Linked DNA regions of Homo sapiens: all the other regions are linked to region 2. The links are contacts of gene promoters, found by promoter capture Hi-C in blood cells and fetal thymus (Javierre and others, 2016). All regions are on one chromosome and are shown on one strand. Each heading gives the region's core, a stretch centred on a gene start or on the middle of the fragment in contact. The rest is flanking DNA. Distances are from core to core; before and after follow the strand shown.

Region 1 (5,928 bases), core at 2,856-5,355, 110 kb after region 2:
GTTCATGATGAGCAGTGCTTTTCATGTAGGCAGTCACTTGGAAATCAATGGTCAGGTACTTAGTCCCTGATAAGACCCAACAGCATACTAAGATCTATTTTTAAATAGTAAGCAGTTGGCTTCTGCAGAGCTTTTTTTCTGGAATCCTAAAAGTATTGTTATTTATCTAATTGACTTTTGTAAATAATCTACACAATGTCCTTATTTATCATGGATATCTCCATTTCATTGGATTTCTGGTCGACATAGCCTGAATGGCTGGGCAGTTTGCACTGAAGACCAGAGTTAGTACGGGGACCCACTGAAAACTGGAAATACTATGAATCAACCTAAAATTGATCTAAAGTAGTATTTATGAAGCAGTTTTTATGCTGCCTATAACATTCAATGATCTTGAGAGAACTGTGCCTCTTTCTCAGTGGTAAAGAATATAAAACAAAATAATGTGTATTTTATGTAATGAGAGGATAGTCTAGCCTGCCCTAGCGTATTGGACTCAACACCTAAATGATTTAGCAGAATTCTGAAAATATCTAAGGGTTATTGCTAACCTTCTTGTATGTCACTTCCTACTCACAGGTCTAATCAGTGCATGCCTTCAATGTGTGACTAAAATGATGTTCTATAGATTATCATGACCATTAAGTTCCCTCAGGACAATATTATGACAGAGAGTAAAAGAGTTTGAAAAAGCTGAACAAACTATAAATGTTCAGAAAGTTATGGTGTAAGAAATGTGACTTTTTAAGGGTGAGAACTCCATCACAAGACAAAGACGAGAGGTTTTCTACAACTTTTTGTTGACATGTTGGTAGTTTTATTATATCCTTCATGTACTCAATATGAGGTTAAATCTATTTGAATTTCAAGATATTGCAAATACAACATATAATATGGCAAGGATCTTCTCCATGGAAAAGTATTTATGATGAAATGTAGATTTGTTTAAAAAGTAAAACACCTATGGTGAAATACTGGATCTTGGCTCTGCTGACAGATCCATTCCACCCACACCCCACCTTTATGTTCCTCTAAAGACCACCCTGAAGTGCCTTTGCAATCACCTACTCTGTTTTTTCCTGGAGGACTCTGTTACTCTGCATTCCTGGAAAGTGTACCTCTGATACTTTCCTCCTTGTCCTGTGACTAACTTGACTCATACTATTGCCAGTTGTCTCTATTTAGTCAATGGAACTAAAGCTTCTTCATCCTTTATCCCGTTGGCCTTTTGGGGTACTCTCCCCACGAGCCATGACACCGTCTCTCTGTAAAGTCTGAGGCATCACATCAGCTCTTTCGAACAGCTTCTGTGCTGGGCATTGTCTGAAGGACTGTTCCTTGTCAGAAGGACTGCTCATCAACTTAGTTCATAAGCATAGCAGAAGTAGCTTAAATTGTGAGATCTCAGGAAACAAATAAAAGTCTGCCCTGGGTTTGGTAGCATCCCTTCTTACTTTTTAAAATATTCAGATTATCAAAAGCAATTTAGGAATATATTCATCTACCATAAACAAATCCCCTAATAAGGTAGAGTTTGGCTTAGCCAGGGAGAAATATGTTAATTAACTCATTGTATGGGTTATCGTGAAGAAGAAGCCATATAATACAGAGCCTGTGTGAACCAAAAAGGTAGTTTTTTTTTTCTTTTCTTTATTCTGAGAGAAATAGCTGAAAATTAAAAGACTGAAGAGATTGGTGACTTGATCAAAAGCTAAGTAATCTGTTCAATGTCAAAAATAGTAATATAATCAATGTTCAAATCCCAGTTTTTGACAGCCAACTCAAGACACTTTCCTTTACACTTTTTCAATTGACTAGAGTTATTTCCACATTTACTAAAATGTTCACTTCTTCTGCCATTTTATTCAGTTAATGATATTTCTCTGTCAATTTGTCAGCAGTGCAGGGAAAGTCTATAGGATCTGTAAACCAGAGGAAAAAAAAAGAATTTTTAATACTATCCTATTACTTTGAAATGTGTGTATTAAAAAGTTGATTACCAAGTTATATTAATAGTTGCTTTATTTTTTTATTTATTTTTCTATTTTTTATATTTTAAACAAAATTTAAGGTGGGATTCTACAGTACATAATATCACAATCCTAACCGAAATACGATGCTATGTGCCTTTAATAGTTTCCCTTAAATAAGAATTAATTAAATTAGAAATTCATTGCTCTTAGCATTAGGAATGTCCCTTGTTTTTATTGGAACTAGAGTAATTTGAAAAATTTGTGGAAATAGTGCTGCAATAAACATACATGTGCATGTGTCTTTAGAATAGAATGATTTATATTCCTTTGGGTATATAACCAGTAATGGGTTTGCTGGGTCAAATGGTATTTCTGGCTCTAGATCTTTGAGGAATAGCTACACCGTCTTCCACGATGATTGAACTAATTTACACTCTCACCAACAGTGTAAAAGCATTCCTATTTCTCCACAGTTTCACCAGCATCTAATGCAAATCAAAACCACAATGAAATACCATCTCACACCAGTCAGGATGGCGATTATTAAAAAGTCAAGAAATAAATTTGAGTTTACCAAATGATAGCATTCACTTTATAAATGCTATCTTTTTTTTTTTTTTTTTTTTTTTTTTTGATACGGAGTTTTGCTCTTGTTGCCCAGGCTGGAGTGCAATGGCGCGATCTCGGCTCACCACAACCTCCGCCTCCCAAGTTCAAGCGATTCTCCTGCCTCAGCCTCCCGAGTAGCTGGGACTATAGGCATGTGCCACCATGCCCGGCTAATTTTGTATTTTTAGTAGAGAGGGGTTTTCTCTATGTTGGTCAGGCTGGTCTTGAATTCCTGACCTCAGGTTATCCGCCCACTTCGGCCTCCCAAAGTGCTAGGATTACAGGCGTGAGCCACCGCACCCAGCCCTATCATTTTTTATATTTTCAAGCATGTCATAGATGAATTTCACTTTAGTGCATAAATAGATGAAGCTACTGACTTTTTTTTATTCAACTGGCTCCTGATTTCTCTCATTAACATATTTGATGAGATGCTTCTGATTTTTCGATACCTTCAAAATACTTAAAAGTATCTGTATCTGTCAGAGTCTAGTCAGGAGACAGAACCCACATGAGTAATTTGAACAGAGAATACTTAATATAAAGAATTAGCAACTGGTAATAGGAATTAGCTACTACAAGGAGAATAAAAAGTAACTCTAAAAAAATACCCTAAGAGAGAACTGACATCTTTTACCATACTGTTTTTCTATTTATTAATATAGTGTCTATCTTCACTTATTTAAGTTTGATTTACTAATACACTCTTCATTACTACCTTTTGTTAAATTTTATAATTTTCTCTAAATGCACATCTTTAAATTTGTACATAAGCTTAGAGTATTTGTTGTTTTGCAAGTTACATTTTTTACATAAATAATTGTAATTTTTTGTTGACATATTTTTTCTTTTTCAACATTTATTTGTAAAAGATGTCATTCTCTATAAGTTAATAAATATGTTATATACAATGAATATAATAAATATCTTTGTATGTCAATTAACACATGAATCCAATGCAATTACAACAAAATCCTGAAATAATATTTTAAGAAATCTGACGAGCTGGTTGTAAAATGTTTATAGAACATAAAGGGGATAAACTAACAAAGACACTGAAAAATAAGAGATGAGAGAACTTAATCTATCAGACATCAAGATTTATTTTAAAACTGTAGTAAATTAAAACAGCGTAATATGGGTGCAGGGCTAAACACATGCATTAACGAAACAGAATAGAGTCTAGTAACAAATCCATACATACACTGAAGCTGAAAATGTAAGAGAGGTAGTATTGCAAATTGAGGGAAATAATGAACAATTAAATAAATGACACCAAGTCTGATTTCTACATATTTACAAATATATAAAAATAGATGCCTAGCTCCCAAAATGTACAAAATGAGTTACAAAGCGATGAAATTCTTAAGTATAAAAAGCAATATATGTTTTAATTTACAGAAGAAAATCTAAATAATGTCTTTATGATCTTGACAGAGAGAAGGATTTCTTAAATCAGACACATACACACAAAAAAAGATACCAAAAATGATTCACAAATCCAACCACATTAAATTTTCTAAAAATTATTACAAAGGCCATTTGAACAGCTGATAAATTTTACAACACTCTTGAAATGAAAAAATAAAATAGAGTGATGGGGAACAGATCATTGGTTGCCAGGGTTAAGATCACAGGGGAGACAGCACAGGAAAGTTTCTTTGAAGTGACGGAAGAGGTCTATGTCCTTATTGTGGCTGTTGTGACTACATGAATCTATTTATGCAATGATATTTCATAATACTATAAAGCAATAGTAAAAAAAAAAAGAGTACATGTAAAAACTGATTAAATCTGAATCTGAATCGTCTTCAGTTTACTTTGAAAAAAAAAAATACCATAGGCCTAAAGGAGAGAAACCAAAGAAGAAATAAATGTGGAAGGGTGATGCCCTGCCCAAGGTTGAGTTTCAGAACTCTTTGGAGAGAATATGAGTGAGGCCCCCTAGATGGAGAGAGGTTCTCTGGGTTGCACTGGACCAGATCTAGTCCACAGAAGGTGAAGTGAAGATGGGGATCAGAGAATTTAAGGCCAAGGCTGGCAATAAAACTTGCTGGAGGATGAGTACCACTGGGTGCCTGAACATAAGCCACTGGCAGCTGCACTGTAGGAACAAGAAGAGAAGTGGCACAAACGAAAATCTTGGTGTTGAAATAGTTCAGCTTTCTAGATTCTCCTCTCTTTTCTGCAACTCATAATCTAAAAGGAAATTGGAATTATCTAGCCAATCAGAGGCAGCCCTTTAAATGAAAGGTTTAAAATGGAAGCTTCTGAGTATGTATCATTCCATATTTTAAAGCATTTTAGCTATTTGAAAACCGTATGGGATAGGCATAATTGATTTTTGGGGGGGGGAGTCTCATAACCTAATAATCTCCACTTGAACTTAAGCAGTTATATTAAATTGTAGTTTGGCTATTCCCTGAAGTTGGCAAAATTCAGTTTCAGATTCTTAAATACTATTCATCCACATAGAAGTTTTAGGCATGTTGTTAAGAAAACTCTTAAAACCTGACAAATGTTTGAATGTATGCCCACCAGAGAATTAGGTTCTCATTGATTTTTTTCTTGATATTTACATTTACCCCGTAACAAAAGCAGTAAATGCATACATATTATCCATCTAGTGCCCATATTTTATTTCTAGAACCAGTAATCTAAACAGAGATTTTTCCATGTTTTTATATTTAACTTTCACTTGATACCTAGAAAAAGACTTGTTAATATTCATTAAATGTTCTCTATATTATCTTCTTCACTACTTTCCCCACAATTGAGATACACCACAAAAATACATTAAAATATTAAACAGTGTATTGACCTGAGGAATTTGAAGGAGTTTTGTCTTAATGAAAGGAAGTTCTCACTACTAGTGACATTTCAGAAATTCTCCTTGGCCTCAGGTAATGGTTCACAATTTTCCTTACGGCAGCCTTCATATCCCTATTCCTTAGTGTATAAATAATGGGGTTTAGGACGGGGGTGAAAACAGTGTAAAATATGGCAAGAAATTTATCCAAAGGAGAGATGGTAAAGGGCCACACATAGATGAAGATGCAAGGTCCAAAGAATAATATTACTACTGCAATATGGGAAGCCAGCGTAGAAAATGCCTTTGCCATTGCAGCTGAAGACTTGAGCCAAACTGTAACAAGAATAATGATGTAGGAGCTGACCAAGAGAGAGAAAGTGCTTAGGGAAAGAATTCCACTATTGACCACAATTAGTATTTCAATGATGTAAGAGTCCAGGCAGGCAAGTTTGGTGACTCGAGGAAGATCACAAAAAAAGCTGTCTACTACATTAGGTCCACAAAAAGGCAGGTTCACAGTAAATGATAACTGGC
Region 2 (6,090 bases), core at 3,235-5,734:
ATCACAAACTATCTCTCAGACCACAGTGCAATCAAACTAGAACTCAGGATTAAGAAACTCACTCAAAACCACTCAACTACATGGAAACTGAACAACCTGCTCCTGAATGACTACTGGGTATATAACGAAATGAATGCAGAAATAAAGATGTTCTTTGAAACCAATGAGAACAAAGACACAACATACCAGAATCTCTGGGATGCATTCAAAGCAGTGTGTAGATGGAAATTTATAGCACTAAATGCCCACAAGAGAAAGCAGGAAAAATCCAAAATTGACACCCTAACATCACAATTAAAAGAACTAGAAAAGCAAGAGCAAACACATTCAAAAGCTAGCAGAAGGCAAGAAATAACTAAAATCAGAGCAGAACTGAAGGGAATAGAGACACAAAAAACCCTTCAAAAAATTAATGAATCCAGGAGCTGGTTTTTTGAAAGGATCAACAAAATTGATAGACTGCTAGCAAGACTAATACAGAAAAAAGAGAGAAGAATCAAATAGACGCAATAAAAAATGATAAAGGGGATATCACCACGGATCCCACAGAAATACAAACTACCATCAGAGAATCCTACAAACACCTCTACGCAAATAAGCTAGAAAATCCAGAAGAAATGGATAAATTCCTCGACACATACACTCTCCCAAGACTAAACCAGGAAGAAGTTGAATCTCTGCATAGACCAATAACAGGAGCTGAAATTGTGGCAATAATCAATAGCTTACCAACCAAAAAGAGTCCAGGACCAGATGGATTCACACCCAAATTCTACCAGAGGTACAAGGGCGAACTGGTACCATTCCTTCTGAAACTATTCCAATCAATAGAAAAAGAAGGAATCCTCCCTAACTCATTTTATGAGGCCAGCATCATCCTGATACCAAAGCCAGGCAGAGACACAACAAAAAAAGAGAATTTTAGACCAATATCCTTGATGAACATCGATGCAAAAATCCTCAATAAAATACTGGCAAACCGAATCCAGCAGCATATCAAAAAGCTTATCCACCATGATCAAGTGGGCTTCATCCCTGGGATGCAAGGCTGGTTCAATATATGCAAATCAATAAATGTAATCCAGCATATAAACAGAACCAAAGACAAAAACCACATAATTATCTCAATAGATGCAGAAAAGGCCTTTGACAAAATTCAACAACCTTTCATGCTAAAAACTCTCAATAAATTAGGTATTGATGTGACGTATTTCAAAATAATAAGAGCTATCTATGACAAACCCACAGCCAATATCATACTGAATGGGCAAAAACTGGAAGCATTCCCTTTGAAAACTGGCACAAGACAGGGATGCCCTCTCTCACCACTCTTATTCAACATAGTGTTGGAAGTTCTGGCCAGGGCAATTAGGCAGGAGAAGGAAATAGAGGGTATTCAATTAGGAAAAGAGGAAGTCAAATTGTCCCTGTTTGCAGATGACATGATTGTATATCTAGAAAACCCCATTGTCTCAGCCCAAAATCTCCTTAAGCTGATAAGCAACTTCAGCAAAGTCTCAGGATACAAAATCAATGTACAAAACTCACAAGCATTCTCATACACCAACAACAGTCAAACAGAGAGCCAAATCATGAGTGAACTCCCATTTACAATTGCTTCAAAGAGAATAAAATACCTAGGAATCCACCTTACAAGGGACGTGAAGGACCTCTTCAAGGAAAACTACAAACCACTGCTCAGTGAAATAAAAGAGGATATAAAGAAATGGAAGAACATTCCATGCTCATGGGTAGGAAGAATCAATATCATGAAAATGGCCATACTGCCCAAGGTAATGTATAAATTCAATGCCATCCCCATCAAGCTACCAATGACTTTCTTCACAGAATTGGAAAAAACTACTTTAAAGTTCGTATGGAACGAAAAAAGAGCCCGCATCGCCAAGTCAATCCTAAGCCAAAAGAACAAAGTTGGAGGCATCATGCTACCTGACTTCAAACTATACTACAAGGCTACAGTAACCAAAACAGCATGGTACTGGTACCAAAACAGAGATATAGATCAATGGAGCAGAACAGAGCCCTCAGAAATAACGCCGCATATCTACAACTATCTGATCTTTGACAAACCTGAGAAAAACAAGCAATGGGGAAAGGATTCCCTATTTAATAAATGGTGCTGGGAAAACTGGCTAGCCATATGGAGAAAGCTGAAACTGGATCCCTTCCTTACACCTTATACAAAAATTAATTCAAGATGGATTAAAGACTTAAACGTTAGACCTAAAACCATAAAAAACCCTAGAAGAAAACCTAGGCATCACCATTCAGGACATAGGCATGGGTAAGGACTTCATGTCTAAAACACCAAAAGCAATGGCAACAAAAGCCAAAATTGACAAATGGGATCTAATTAAACTAAAGAGCTTCTGCACAGCAAAAGAAACTACCATCAGAGTGAACAGGCAACCCACAGAATGGGAGAAAATTTTCACAACCTACTCATCTGACAAAGGGCTAATATCCAGAATCTACAATGATCTCAAACAAATTTACAAGAAAAAAACAAGAAACCCCATCAAAAAGTGGGCAAAGGACACGAACAGACACTTCTCAAAAGAAGACATTTATGCAGCCAAAAAACACATGAAAAAATGCTCACCATCTCTGGCCATCAGACAAATGCAAATCAAAACCACAATGAGATATCACCTCACACCAGTTAGAATGGCAATCATTAAAAAATCAGGAAACAACAGGTGCTGGAGAGGATCTGGAGAAATAGGAATACTTTTACACTGTTGGTGGGACTGTAAACTAGTTCAACCATTGTGGAAGTCAGTGTGGCGATTCCTCAGGGATCTAGAACTAGAAATACCATTTGACCCAGCCATCCCATTACTGGGTTTATACCCAAAGGACTATAAATCATGCTACTAGAAAGACACATGCACACGTATGTTTATTGCGGCATTATTCACAATAGCAAAGACTTGGAACCAACCCAAATGTCCAACAATGATAGACTGGATTAAGAAAATGTGGCACATATACACCATGGAATACTATGCAGCCATAAAAAATGATGAGTTCATGTCCTTTGTAGGGACATGGATGAAATTGGAAATCATCATTCTCAGTAAATTATCGCAAGAACAAAAAACCAAACACCGCATATTCTCACTCATAGGTGGGAATTGAACAATGAGAACACATGGACACAGGAAGGGGAATGTCACACTCTGGGGACTGTTGTGGGGTGGGGGAAGGGGGGAGGGATAGCATTGGGAGAGATACCTAATGCTAGATGACGAGTTAGTGGGTACAGCACACCAGCAGGGCACTTGTATACATATGTAACTAACCTGCACATTGTGCACATGTACCCTAAATCTTAAAGTATAATAATTAAAAAAAAAAAAAGAAAAAAAAAGAAAATAATATTGGATTTTTAGGGTGGGTGAGGAGTTGATTATGAATATCCAGGAGAAGTTAGGGATTGATAAGGTAGTTATCACAGGTTTATAAAGAAGAGAGTGATATGATGAAAAATAATTTTTATAGGTAATGTTAAATTCATTCTAAGAATAAACTGTATTTGTGGGGAGATTACATTATGCAACATCTACAAAGTGGAATTCTATACACCTATTAAAAAGTTATGTTTCTATATGTTAATATAAACATATTTAAATGTAATAAGTTAAAAACTCAAGAAAAATAGCTATACATATAATATATAATCTGCAGTCTTAATAAAATGATATAAATATAAATACCTGTAACACTAACACACACACACTGTACTGAAGTGTGTATTATTTTTCTGGAAAGTTATCTAAGAAGCTCTTAAAATGTTCAGTCAGTCTTTCTGTTATCTGTGATGTGCTTTTTTCACATTGGCATAAACTACCTTTTTTTTTAAAAGATAATTAAAAGAAAAAAACATATTTTAACCAGCTTTTTAAGAATGGCTGTTCTATTTCTGATTTTAAAATACTTCAACATTCAATTTGACATTTAAAAATAAATATTGTTAAAATTCCTAATGTTGTGGATTTTTCTGTGGATTAAGTCAGCTGACTTAATCTAGATCCTGAATATGCACTACATAGTTTATTCATTCAACAGATATTCACTTAGTGTTTTTGATATGCACTATTCCAGATGTGGAGGATTTATAAACTTCTTTGTATGTATTTGAAAATTGTTCTCTTCTGTTTAAATGCAGCTTCAAAAATTGGGTTTCAAAAAGAAGCATTAGTAGGAATTCTTAAATATTAGTCATAAAACTGAAGAGAGCTATTACCTTTATAGACATATAAATGAATGGCTCTAATTACATATTTGATGAAATTTAATATTTTGCATCAAAGTTTCTCAGAGTGGGAAATTGGCCAACAGATATGTTTACATAGGGAAAAAAATACATCCCTAGTTGGATAAGTGTTCCTATGGGATTATCTCATAGAAACATATAGCACTATGGTCTCTATTTTTTCTGTTTCTGATGATTGGAAGAGTAAATTGCAGATAACTGATGGGGATACAGGAAAAGGAGATAAAAGGCCATTCCTGGGATTCACGTACGACGCCATCACGAAAGTTTTTTTCCCCTGTCTTGTAAGTAATAACAGCACAAAAAGATGACTACAAATACTTTATTTACTGAAGGTGTTTTGTAAGACCTAGATTAATTTAAAACTATTAGCAACGGAGGCAATTTTTTTAAAAGCTGAACCAATAGAACCAGTTTGTAATAAGCATGAGCCGATGACAAATTTTGTCATAAATTTAGATTATACTGAAAGAACTGTATTTCTTTTACCAACATAAATGTTACATCAAGCTAAGTCATTTTGAAACCTATGACAACCATACACAGGCCAACCAGCTAACCACTACATAGCAATAACCAGGTAAATGAATAAATGAATGCAAGCTGAAAGTGAAATTAGTCAATTACATTTGACTGTGGGTTGTTTGTACACATTGTCTAACCATCTAGAGGAGGTATTTGATGTGAATAATATGAAATGTTGAATGAACGAATTATATAAATATATATAAATATATGAAATGTATGTAATATACATGTTTAATATATATATACTATACATATACTTGACACTTCAAAAGTGTGTAGTGACTACTGCTAATACTGATCTGTGAGGGATTCATGCAAGAATGGAGCATGGAGGAAATAAGGTAAGTTTCTCAGGACCTAATTCATATTTCTTTACCAGAGTCCATTTCAAAACATGGTTCTTGAGAATCCTGGATGTATTTTTGATATCCTTTCCACATTAATAAAACTCAATATTATTCTGTGACTATAAAACTCACCAGAATCATTATCTTATTCATAGAGATCTTTATAGCAGAAAGAGGCATTCGATACCATATAGTCCAAATTCTTTTTTTCACTGAGAAGAAAACCCTCAAAAGGAGAGTTACTTGTCCTGTGTCACCCAGTGAGCAGCTTACCCAGGTGTCCTGTAGAGGTCTTCTGATTCTAATTCATGACCTATAGTTTTGTGGTTTCATGTACTATTAATGTTTTTATTTTTGTCTTCCAGAAACTTATATTCTGAATTCTACTGACTATTTGGGATACTTCTCTGGGCCATTAGTAAAATCACTGACTGACAAAATTCCACAAAAGTAAGGGTCCTTGTAAGTTCAAGTGCCTTGACTGAGTACCAAATGTGGACATCAACATGAACATTTCTTTCCAATATGCATCATTTCCCTACCCCTTATTCTCACTTATTTTGATCATTATGGGATAAAGTTGACGATATGGAAAGAGCAAACCATTCAGTGGTATCGGAATTTATTTTGTTGGGACTTTCCAAATCTCAAAATCTTCAGATTTTATTCTTCTTGGGATTCTCTGTGGTCTTCGTGGGGATTGTGTTAGGAAACCTGCTCATCTTGGTGACTGTGACCTTTGATTCGCTCCTTCACACACCAATGTATTTTCTGCTTAGCAACCTCTCCTGCATTGATATGATCCTGGCTTCTTTTGCTACCCCTAAGATGATTGTAGATTTCCTCCGAGAACGTAAGACCATCTCATGGTGGGGATGTTATTCCCAGATGTTCTTTATGCACCTCCTGGGTGGG
Region 3 (5,647 bases), core at 1,789-4,288, 100 kb before region 2:
TGCATTAGATGGGCATTCCTCTGTACAAAATGAGTTCCCGAAAAAAAAAAAGCACCAAACAATGGATCTCACAGGGGCAAACTTCTTGTTCTAGTCAGATAAGACAAAGAGGCATTGTCAGTGTAGGCCAAGACAGAAACCTAAATGATGGTCACCATCTCTAACCTTCCTTATTATTTCAACAGATATATATATACGTATAGATAGATAGATAGATATAGATAGAAAGATATACACACATACATATATGTACATACATACATACTCCTTTGGCACTGAAGATGCATAAGTGGAGAGGGTCCCCATACTGTCCCGCACAACAGCTTCCAGACTGCAGAGCAGTAAGCATCTGCAGGCAACACTGTGCATATCTCAATTCCAGACTGTTTTCAGACCAGCTCCTGAAGCCAAGTGTCTGGGGACCTGATCAACATCCTAGCAGCTCACTCCCTTATCCTTCCTCATTCACTTTATCTTGCTTCTTTCTTATTTCCCATCCTTCCCCATTCTCTTCCTGCTAATTCTGTCTTCATACACTCATTTACAACAATATTTCTTTACATTCTCTTTTAGCTTCTGTTTCCTGTTACTTGCTTTTTAATTTTTTCTTGCAATTTATCTTCCTAATCCCTTGCTTTTCCTCCCTCTTTGCTCTCTTCCTTGTCATTCTCTTTCTTCTTTCTCTCATTTGCCTACATTCTTTCAGTCTTAAGTAAGTTTCACCTTGTTCTTTACACATATTCTCCTTAAATATATTCAATGCCTACCCTTTACTGATTCTGAAATAATAAATTGCTTAACCTGTTCCAAGGTAGAGTGAGCACAGTAGTTAGTTGCTTCCTATGTATTTCATTCCAATGACTTTTTCTACAGACCTAAAGTGCTTTCCTTGCTCCCCAGTGCTAAGCCTTACTTCCTGAATATTATCTTCTTTGAAATTTACTGAGTCTGAATCACTCATTAATTACTTCAGGTTTTGTCACATGTTTTGTCTGTTTTTAACTCATCTTGATAAAAATGAGGCAAGTTATTTTGGTGTTCTAAAATAGGTCTCTGGTTTGAGAATTATTTTACCTTGCTGAGTTACCATATCTGCAATTTTAGGAAGCTTAGGCAAGTTATTTAATACAATTAATGACCTTAGGCAAGTCATTTAATTTTTAATATCTGTATTTTGAATCTATTAAAGAGAAATAATATATTCGCTGTTTTTACTTCACAGGGTAGAGGGAATATGATGATCAAATTAGGTGGTTAGGAGCTAATCCACATCTGTGTAAATGAAGAGAGGAAGCATTCAGTGATAAATACGTTCTAGCAAAAAATGGATACCATGTCAATAGATCTTTTGTCACTGCCCTGGGATTAATTCCAAGGGATATGATAACAGCTTGAATCTAAGTGGATTTCAGAGTAAGAAACTGTGGAGGTTCTAGGAAGGGTCTCAGTAAAGGTTTTCTTATCTAATTCAGACATGTTTGAGAATCATGTCTTTCTTGTTTTAGGATTGCTAACTCTGAGCCTTATATTGCTGGATGTAAGGACCATGTGCAGATGGGGAAACACATGTAACTGAGTGTGGAACCAGAGGTTTCCAAACTTGTGAAGTCAATGAAGTTTGTCTCTGAGACTCAGCCTGCCCTTTTTGACTGATTGTGATTCCTTCACTCTTCCTCCCTTTACCTTTGGTTTAGGATAAAGATGAAATCAGTCATTTGTATTATATACAAATTGAAATCCAGGTGGTGAATCTTCATAATCAATTGGTATTTTTATTTTTAAAACAATAGTAGAATTAAAAATTTTAGCACCTTTAAAATAGTACTAAGTATTAGATAATAGGAGGTTTATTTGAGAAACAGGTATATTTGAGAAAAGTGCTGAACACCTGAATTTACAACTCACCCTTACTCTGTTTCTGCAGCAGAATTCTGTTCTCATAAATTTCAAGGCAGCAGATAACCAAGACAAATAGTATAATTTTTCTTTTTTTTTCTTTTTCTCTATTTAATTTAAATATAAAGAATGATAAAAAATTTTACCTTGCCGGGAGCCAAATGCTACTCTCAAACAAGTGGCTATTCTTTTCTGTCTGATAAAAGGGAGATTAGCTAATTATTTCAGAATTTGTGCTTAAATATATATTCTCATGTTGGAATATTATAAATTCTGAAATCTCTATTCATTTGTAATACAATTAATGCAATAGAGAATGTACTTTGGGGTTTTACCGCTACCTGAATTCTGCAGAGTTCTACCAATGGGAATTATTAGACTGCCAATTAGAATTAGACAAAGAAAGAGACAAGAACATTTTAAAGATTAAATATTCAAAACACATGCCAGTGAATACCCCATTGAATCATGTTAGGGTTTTGAATTTGGTATTTTATCAGTGGCAGTGATAATGGAATGTCCCATACACTTATTAGGCAAAATGATTAATGATTAATTCAATGTTAATAATGCTTCATTTAACTCAGTATATCTAAATTATTATCATTTCAAAGTTTGTCTTTAAATAAAAAGAACTTTATGCATCTTGTAGACCAGTTCCTCCAGGGGAGTGCCCCTCAAGTAAAAGAAGAAATACTCTATTGTATTATTGGTTTTTTTGAATATATGGTTCCTAAGCCCTGCTATAGGATAATGAGCTTTCTGGTTTTTAATGAAATAATATAACATAAAAATATCTAATCATACAAGAAAAAAATCAATGTAAGTTTTTTTTGTAACACATTATAAAGAAAGATGCCATTCCTCAGAGTCACATTAAAATTAAAATACCAAACTTAAATTTAATAAAGCAAATTCAATACACAGTCAAGTATGCTTTCATTCATGTTTATGCCCAGCTCAGCCAGAGATGCAGTCAGAGATGTTTAAAAGTGGACAGAGATGAAGAGAGGTAGATAACATTTTAGCAGGTTTCTTTCCTATTATGATCAGTGCTGCAACTTCTAACATATACCATTTTCCTTGGGTGAAAGCATAGCAGTATAATACAGTCCCAGAAAGATACAAAGTTAGAAATACAAGATAATTGCAAGAGAGAGAACAGAGGCAAAAAAGAGAAAAAGCATACACAAAAAAATAGGAGAAAAGATGGATAGAAAGAGAAACAATGCCCACAGAGATGCTTGTACCACAAAGCCGTAAACACAGGTTTAGAAAAAAAAAAAGACAGGATAAGAGAAGGGAATGGATGGAGAGAGAAAGATAGAGTGGTAAAGATATTTCTGAGAATGCAAATTATTTTGTTTTGTTTTTGTTTTTTATTTTTCACTTTAGTTTTGTTTTATGCAATTAAGGGACTTCCCAGGGATGTCACTTCTCAATATTGACAACAATGCTTTAGAATTAGTTAGAAGAAGATATTTTAACTGAGATATTAACTAGTGCAAAATAGACCTTTCCCCTCTGCTGAGAATGCTTTTTCATCTTAGGCAATTTTATACTATTAAAAAGAAAGATGTATGTTTGTGTGAATGTCTGTGTGTTTTAAAAGATGTATCTCAGAGTGGCCTGAACTAGCTTTCTAAACAAGGCATCCAAATGTGGTGAAACTAGCACAAGACTGGAGCTCAAAAGACAAGTTTGCAGTCCTGGTTCCAACCATGATGGTTCTGTTTTTTGAGAAAATGTCAAAAACTTCCTCCGATGTTTTGTCATCTAAAAAACTGAAAATATATTTCCTTACTTTACAAAAGGTTTTAGGTGTTTATCATTTGGAAAACTTATTACATAGGTAAGTGATTAGGCACTGGTTATTATATACAAGGTCCTCGGTCTCAGGGATTTGACATTCCAGTGGAGGGAGCCAGACAAAGAACAACAACAACAACAAAAAAGACAGTAAAATGTGGGAGAATGAAAGAATATAACAGAGGGATGTGTTGGAGGGTGAATGAGGGCGGGGGGTGGTGCTGTTATTTTAGATTGAGTAGTTAGAAAAGTTATCCCTGAGGAGCTGAAAGTTAAGCTGAGGTTTGAATGACTAGGGTAGGGCATTTCAGGCAATGTGAAGAACGAGAATGGAGACTGTGGAAGAGGATTGAGCTGGTACAGTAAGGCACAGAAAGGAGACCATCATGATGAGGAAATGGTGAGCATAAGAAGGAAAAGTATAAGGCAACATTAGAGAGGTAGGCAGATGTTATCCAGCTCATGGCATTTGGAGGTTATTCTCAGTGTGTAATTATAATGTCAACAATTGTAATCTTCAGGTCGTTCTGGCTATTGTGTGGAGAATGGGTTTGAGGGAGGCAAGTATAGGAGCAAGGAGAACAGTTTGAAGATGTTGCAGTACCAAGTACAAAAGATGATGTTGGTAACTTTGCCTGGTGGAGAGTGGGAGGAGGAGACCGTAGTAAGAAGAATTCAGAGAACTTGACATGTATTTTGATGGTGGAGACATTTAGACTTGCTGATAGACACGATGTCTTAAAAACTCCTAAGATTTTAGATGAAATAGCTATGTATGGAAGTGTAATTTATTAACATTATGAAGACCCAAACAAGATAAGGTGGTGATTGGAAAAAAACTATGCTTTTTTAAAGGTACATTTAATTTTCACATAGGAAATATATTTGCATGGTTAAGCATTTTTAAAAAGTAGAAATGAGGCCACTTTTTTTGCACCTACCACAATTAGTTTATTCTCAATTTATTCAAAGAGATTCTTTAGAAAAAAAATACATGCTGAGCTATTCTATTAAAAATATTTGTTTATAATCCTTTAATTTGAGTGGCAGTTTTCTCAGACATAAAGCCACTGAGTTATATTTTCTTGCCTGAAAAATTTGTAGGTTTTGACCCAGTGCCACTTCCATTTTAAAAATGCTAGTTAATTATTTTCTGGAGAAATGTATGAGTGACAGTCCTATGATGTTTTGTCATCTACAAAATTGAAAATGTATTTCCTTACTTTACAAAAAGTTTTGGGTGTTTTTCATTTGGAAAGCTTACTACATAGGTAAGCAATTAGGGACTGATTATTAAAGGTCCTTGGTCTCAGGGATTTGACATGCCAGTGGAGTTGACATTCCAGCAACTAGATTGCTACTCAGTGAGAACCTTATAGGTAATACCTCTCTAAATCCTGGTAATGAAAACCTCTTTCTCTGGGATGGTTTTCATTTTCTTCTTTGTATGTTTCATGTTATTAATTTTAGTAAAATGAGATTTTAGTTTGTACTTTAAGAAATAGTATCACTAGTTTATTTTGAAAAATAAATTGTATCAATGTTTACAAAACCTAATAGCAAACAGTCATATTTTGCTCAGGATAGCAAACAAGGCACAAATAGGTGCCAAATAGATTCCAGTGTTTCAGACAAGTCAGTTCTTGATAGTGTAACATGATGTTTGATTAAAAATTTTATTTTATTTAATGGTAAATTACTGATATTGAACACAGATGGTAATCAGTAATTTAAAAAAAAGTAGAGGAGAAACCCACCCAAATTTAAAATCACATTGATAAAACTTAGAGAATTGGGGGAATCTTTGTTTTACAGGCAGGTTGACTGGCTAATTTGGAGGCAGCAATACAAATTAAAGGACTAGCTATGGGCTGTTCTCTAACATCTATACTTATTTGCATATTCTTGGGATGCAGGGTGGGTTCAACATAGGCAAATCAAT
Region 4 (6,393 bases), core at 3,229-5,728, 85 kb after region 2:
ATTTCAGAGACCCACCCTCAGGGGCGTATTCTCTTTCCCAGGGATGTTCCTTGCTGAAAAAAAAAATTCAGCGATATTTCTCCCATTTGCTTTTGAAAGAAGAGAAATATGGCTCTGTTCCCCCTGGCTCACCGGCGGTCAGAGTTTAAGGTTATCTCTCTTATTCCCTAAACATTGCTGTTATCCTGTTATTTTTTCAAGGTGCCCAGATTTCATATTGTTCAAACACACATGCTCTATGATTTGTGCAGTTAATGCAATTATCACAGGGTCCTGAGGCGACATACATCCTCCTCGGCTTACGAGATGACAGGATTAAGAGATTAAAGTAAAGACAGGCATAGGAAATCACAAGGGTATTGATTGTGGAAGTGATAAGTGTCCATGAAATCTTCACAATTTATGTTTAGAGATTGCAGTAAAGACAGGCATAAGAAATTATAAAAGTATTAATTTGGGGAACTAATAAATGTCCATGAAATCTTCACAATCCACGTTCTTCTGCCATGGCTTCAGCCAGTCCCTCCGTTTGGGGTTGCTGACTTCCCACAACACTAAATGCAATTTCAGATAGCATAATAGATTTTCTAATTAAATTTATATTTGAACTACTTACCTTTGCTAATGATTTCACAGCCTCTTCTTTCTGTAATTGAGCTAATATCACAATAACAGAAGAGTTTTCCAAGGCCTATTGAATAGCATCTCTGATGTAATTAATTCATTCAACAAATAATTATAGATTGTCTTTTCTGCACCACACAGTTTTATAGACCCTGGAGACAAAGCAATGGGAGAAAAAAATAATAAAAACTGTCCCATCCTCATGTAACTTGCATCCTAAAGCTGTGGGGGTGGGTGGTGTTGGCACAAGCAATTAAAAATAAATAAGTAAAATATGTATTATATCAGTTAGTGACATCTAACTGACATGATATATATATTTATGAATTAAGAGGGGAGAAGTTGAGAGACAGCAAAAAGAGAAAAAAAGATAGTTTGGTAATGAAGATAACTACCTTTGTCAAAGGAAAATATTTATGGAATAGTGCCATGGAGCAAATAAAGCAGAACAAAGGAATATGGACTATAACCAGGTGATCAGTAACAGCCTCACTAGGCAGGTTACATTTCAGAAAGACTAAAGAAAAATGAGGAGCAAGCCTTGAGGAATTCCACTTCAGACCAATAACATAGCAAGTATATGCAATACCTTATTTGTGAAAAATAAACATTCCCTTGGGAAACATCATTGTAATTTTGCAAGTTTATTAGAAATTAATTAAATGAAAATTTAGTTTTTAACCTTATTATGGACTTGACATGCAAAATTGGCTTTTTTGAATAATATTCTCTTCATAGGCTTAGGCATGTTTGTAATTTTAGGGAACCATAAATTTAGTCTCAACATATAGATACATACTAACATTTTCGTTTTTTTTCTAGAACGAAATATGGATATAAAATTGTTTTTCAAATTATGTATTGACATTTGTATCCATATGTATATATGTCCATGTACAGAATTTGAAAACAATTTTATAATTTTAAGTGCATGATGCTAATTTTATCTAATTGTATTCAAAATAAAATTGAAACAATCTGTTTTCTCAAAAAAGAGCCCTTGAAAATGAAATTCATAGCCAGATCCCCGAAGCTACATGGAGCTCCCTGTGTGTCTACAGTCATAGTCAATAGTTAGTTGAGACAGATACTCATGGAATGACTTTCAAATATTGAGATCATTAAAACTATAAAAATTAGTAATTGATTTTTTGGTATTACCTCACAGAATCAGATGCCTTTTAAAGTATCTGATATATGTATACAAAGCCTGACAAAAATGTGCAAACTGATGTGTGTTGAGTCAAAATTGTCTAAAACCATTTCAGTTTGTCTGCAACTTGGTTCTACAAGTACAGGCAGAATTTCTCTAAAATCATTCTAAAAATATTTTTCCATAGTAAGAGATGATCATATTCCATATTAACAGTTGTGGATTAGTCAGTCTTCTTGGAAAGGCAGAGTGTGAATTTCCTCAAGATGCCTTAATATAAGAACACAGAATTTGAGATCAGATCTGGGTTTAATTTCTGGCTTCACTACTTACTCTGTGATAGTGTTTGTTCATTCATTCCAACTTCTTGAGTACCTTTGGTGATTATGGGCCAAAAACTCTGCAGGCCCAGAGAGATAATGATGCCCAAAACAGATAGGATTAATGTCCTTGTGCAATTTACTGGAATTCTCTAAACTTTTGAGTCCTTATTTGTGATAGTGCACATTTCAAAGAGCTGTGTAAACTATAAAGTATATTCTAATTGAAAATTACATAATATAGTTTTACTTTCTTACAAGTAAAGCCAATCTGAATAGAAAAATATTTGCTTCTGAGAAGATTAACAAACTAAGAGACTTTAAAAGACCAAATAAGATTAAAATGAAATATTAGAATAAAGTCATTATTTTCTAGAATAAACCTATCATTTATTAAAACATTGGAATACAAATCTGACAAAAAGGAAAGTAGACACTGAAGAAAAACCACATAGCGTTCTTTACAATTCTCCATTCACCAGTTAGCTACTTCCAACCTTTAGCATTCTTCACCTCTAACTTATTTAAAAAAAGTAAATGCAGTAAACTAGAGCTAGAATTAGGTTACAAATGGATATCATTGTGAAATAGGGGAAGACATTCTTTGATGTTTCATTATTAACTCTACTTCAGATTTCAAATACAGAGTTAAATAATGCCTTGTCTTGGACATCAGGTTATACTGGAAATAAACTTCTCTAATGGGATTAACACCCCATCCTTAGTACCTGATTTGGAAATTAATTGCAGGTCTCTGCCTAAGGTAATGATAAACCGAATGTGAAATAAAACTTCCATTTAAAGGAGAAATGTGAAATTTGTATGAAGTACTTTCTGGACTCAGAAATTAATTTGAGCAAGGAGCTTTAACTAAAAGCATTCTGGTCAAACAGGAAGGAAGAAGCAAAGGTTATAAGGCAAGAGGTCAAATTGTAGAATCTTCTGTGGCTCAAACTCTAGATTGCACAGCCCAGATTAACAAATAGGTACATGTAAAGGTCTTAGTGGTACAGATGTCAGACATGAAAAGAATCAATCAAAGTTGTAGAAGAGAAAGAAGATAGTTTGGTAATGAAGATAATCATTTATGGGAAGAAACCGGCTTCTTACTATGTAGATAATTAAGTTGAATAAAGGCTTTTGGGTATGACGAGATTGATTTAGTTATCTTACAGTGATATGTGACCAATAATTACCTTATTATCCTTACAATGCTATAAAGTAAATATTACTATAATCCTAACTTTGTGTTAGAAGCAGCTACAATTTAGTGCTAAAGTTAGTGTCACAAGGCACACTGGTAGTCTGAAGATTTGAATGTGCAAAGAACATATGTTTAACTGCTACATATTGCTCAATTAAGGATCTGATTACTGAAAACATCTATCTAAGGATGTCTACCTGGTCACTAAAATAATTTATCAGTATTATTATTATTTTAAGAGACAGGGTCTTGCGCTGTCACTCAGGCTGTAGTGCAACTATGTGATCATGGCTCACGGCAGCCTGGACCTCCTGGCCTCAAGTGATCCTCCCACCTCTAAGATAACAAAGTAGTGCCCAATTATATTCTCTGCTCTTTCTGAACTATACATCAACATGCTCACTTTTATCTTGCTACTTCAATCCCATGCTTGTGTTAGCAGTGACAATAATCAGTCAAAACAGCAATAATTCGCTGTTTTGTTTTATATTAGGCTCTCACGCCCAAACCCCAAGTCCTCATGCTCAAAAACACAGGTTGCCTTGACTGTGGTAATAACTTTAGCCCAGAATCCCTTTATCTCTCTGAATGGCAACATGTACAGTTGCTTTTAAGCTTGATGCGATTAAATTCCACATACCAATTTTGAGATAAATCTCAGGAAAGTAACAACAGGGTGAAGAGAAGATGCTTCCAAAACTTTTTAAAAAATAATTTTAAAAAGAGAATCACAGGAGCCTATAAAGGAACTATTTAAATATCATGACACTCCCAAAAGTCTCAGATAACCAATCCCATGAATTGCGAAAGCCAATTAAAAAATGAACTTTGTTAAGTGAATTCATCTTGCTATGGGAGTTATTAACAATATTTTGGTTGCTTCTCCCCCATATCAAGATGGTAAGAACTTTTAAATTGTTTGCCTATAATTGCAAATGAGAACATATGTCATGAGAGAGAAATGTAGTGACCTCAAAGTTTGCAACAACTATATTTGCCCTCATTTAATGTTCTGCCTCTATCCATGTGCTTTCTTTGTCCTTATCTAAAGTGACTGTGCCAGTAAGCACTAGCACACATGCACAGGGCCTAAAGAAAATTAGATCCAAAGAAATATAAATCTGGCAATGGGTCTAAGAAAATTAGAATTTTGCTTTCTCTAATCTTATATTTCTTCCTTTTCTTGAAAATTTTTATGTCAAAGGTTTTCAAATTCCATACCACACAATATTTTGCCAAAATTATCCAATATTTTAATTATCACTACACAGTACTTGACCATATAACAGAATCAGAAAAGAATCTTAGACATAAGTGGGTAAAACTGCCCAGATATAAAAATAGCTTGCTTTTGGATATTGTGGAAACATATCCCATTAGAGCTGTAGAAGGACTTAGGAAATCTACAGAGAAGAGCAGGGGACAAAGACAAAAGTAAATGTTGTGACACAGAGTGAGTGCCCAGGAAGTTTGATGAGCTTAATTGAGGAGAGGAGCCCAGTCATCAGCCCAGACTGATAGATCACGTTTCTTCTTCACATCTTCTCTTTAATTTTCACAGTCATTTCAATTCTTCTGTTTCCAAATCTAGTCCTCCTTTAGTCTCCCTTAACCCAGGTAATGGCATTTCTATTGCCCCAGTGGTTTCAGCCAGAAACTTCACTTCTTCTATTTTCTCACTCCCACTTCCAGTCCTGCTGTACCTTTCTCTAAAATATGCCCAATCCATCAAAGCTTTCTATTACAATTTCCCTTGTCTAAACCATCCCTTTCTTTCTCCTTAAATGTTTCAAAGGCCTTCTAATAATCTCCAACTCTCTGCACTGATTTTTTTTTCCAGTCAATTTCTCCTGAATGCTCAGAGCAGTCTTTAAAAATAAGATAAATCTTTAAAAATAAGATAAATAAGTCAAACAACTTTAAAATGATAAACATGCAGTCATTCCTCTGTATATGTGGGTTCTGTGTCTATGGATTCAATCAATCACGGATCAAAAGTATTTAGAAAAAAACAATTCCACAGATCTTCAAAATCAAAACTGAAATTTGCAACACATCAAGTACTACATTGAATTCACTTAAAAGAAGTGATATGTAGACATCGTATTAGATATTATAAGTAATTTAGAGATGATTTAAAAGTATACGGGAGAATGTGCATAGGTTATATGCAAATGCTACACCACTTTATACAAGGGACTGAAGCATCCATGGGTTTTGGTATCTGCGGGGGTCTTGGAACCAATTCCCCGTAGACACCAAGGGACCATCATAGTCCCCATTGCTCTAGAAATATAATCCAATATCCATAATGAGCCCTTCCTATCCTGTATTTTACATATTAACCTTCAGCTTCATTTCGTCTCACTCATTGGTCATTCACTAAATTCCTGCTTTCATTTTCTGGAACACACAATCCCTTTCCACTTTAGGGAGTTTCCATTTCTCTTTTGTCTGCTTGAATATTGTTTCTTTTGGCTCTTCTATTGTATATCCTTCCCACAGAAACTAAATAGAAGGTTATTCATTACACAGAGCACAGAGAGGCTTTTTCTGAGTACCATTCCCCCCTCTTCACTCCTTTGTTTTTTCTCATCTCGCAACATTATTTACTACCTTCATAACACTCATTAAACTTTTAATTTGCTCATTTGATTTTCTTACATGTCTTTGTTTCTCTCTCCTTTCTGCATCTCCACTCCAAGACTGTGGGACTCATGTGGGTAAAAACTGAGTGTCTTAGGATCACTATCATCTCCCCAACACCTGGCCCAGAACCTAGCAAATAGTAGATACCCACAGAATATTATTGATTCACTGAATAAATGAGTGTACAAGTGGCCATGTGGTGGTTACTTTTTACTTTTCAAAAATACCATAAAACTCTTTTTTTAAAAAATGAGAATGTTATAATGGGGTCATACATATGTTTTTACTGACACTGGCTTCTTTTACTCAACATAATGCCTTTGAGATTCACCCCAGTTACTCTGTGAATCAATAGTTGGTTCTTTTAAATTGATGAGTGGTATTCTGCACTGACTCTGGACTTGGCCATGTGTCTTGTTCTGCCGAAAGGAATAATAGCACAA

Evidence for each region. The method cuts DNA at HindIII sites, captures the fragments that hold promoters and counts their contacts. A CHiCAGO score of 5 or more calls a contact.
Region 1: a fragment that was not itself captured here is called in contact with the fragment with the promoter of OR4K13 in region 2 in 5 of 17 cell types (non-activated CD4 T cells, neutrophils, naive CD4 T cells and 2 more); the score reaches 6.7 in non-activated CD4 T cells.
Region 3: a fragment that was not itself captured here is called in contact with the fragment with the promoter of OR4K13 in region 2 in 3 of 17 cell types (M2 macrophages, neutrophils and M0 macrophages); the score reaches 7.0 in M2 macrophages.
Region 4: a fragment that was not itself captured here is called in contact with the fragment with the promoter of OR4K13 in region 2 in 5 of 17 cell types (fetal thymus, neutrophils, naive CD8 T cells and 2 more); the score reaches 6.6 in fetal thymus.

Annotation. Positions count from the first base shown.
Region 1 is chr14:19,921,079-19,927,006 of GRCh38, reverse strand. The region is part of intron 2 of LOC124903278 (a long non-coding RNA gene); the gene reads left to right. OR4K5 (olfactory receptor family 4 subfamily K member 5) reads right to left here. Exons shown (of 1, transcript NM_001005483.1): 1 at 5,429-5,928. The coding sequence ends at 5,429. It also overlaps a transcript of OR4K1 not described here. Among named protein-coding and RNA genes, the nearest start is that of OR4K5, 3.4 kb to the right of the region's middle. The HindIII fragment of the contact is 1,493 bases long and covers 3,359-4,851 here.
Region 2 is chr14:20,034,432-20,040,521 of GRCh38, reverse strand. It overlaps OR4K13 (olfactory receptor family 4 subfamily K member 13), which reads left to right and starts at 4,484. Exons shown (of 2, transcript NM_001004714.2): 1 at 4,484-4,584; 2 at 5,541-6,090. The coding sequence starts at 5,764. The HindIII fragment of the contact is 9,053 bases long and covers 1,007-6,090 here.
Region 3 is chr14:20,135,286-20,140,932 of GRCh38, reverse strand. It overlaps OR4N5 (olfactory receptor family 4 subfamily N member 5), which reads right to left and starts at 2,113. Exons shown (of 3, transcript NM_001004724.2): 1 at 2,043-2,113; 2 at 1-90. The HindIII fragment of the contact is 3,856 bases long and covers 1,111-4,966 here.
Region 4 is chr14:19,948,796-19,955,188 of GRCh38, reverse strand. No RefSeq gene overlaps it. Among named protein-coding and RNA genes, the nearest start is that of OR4K1, 21 kb to the right of the region's middle. The HindIII fragment of the contact is 1,119 bases long and covers 3,919-5,037 here.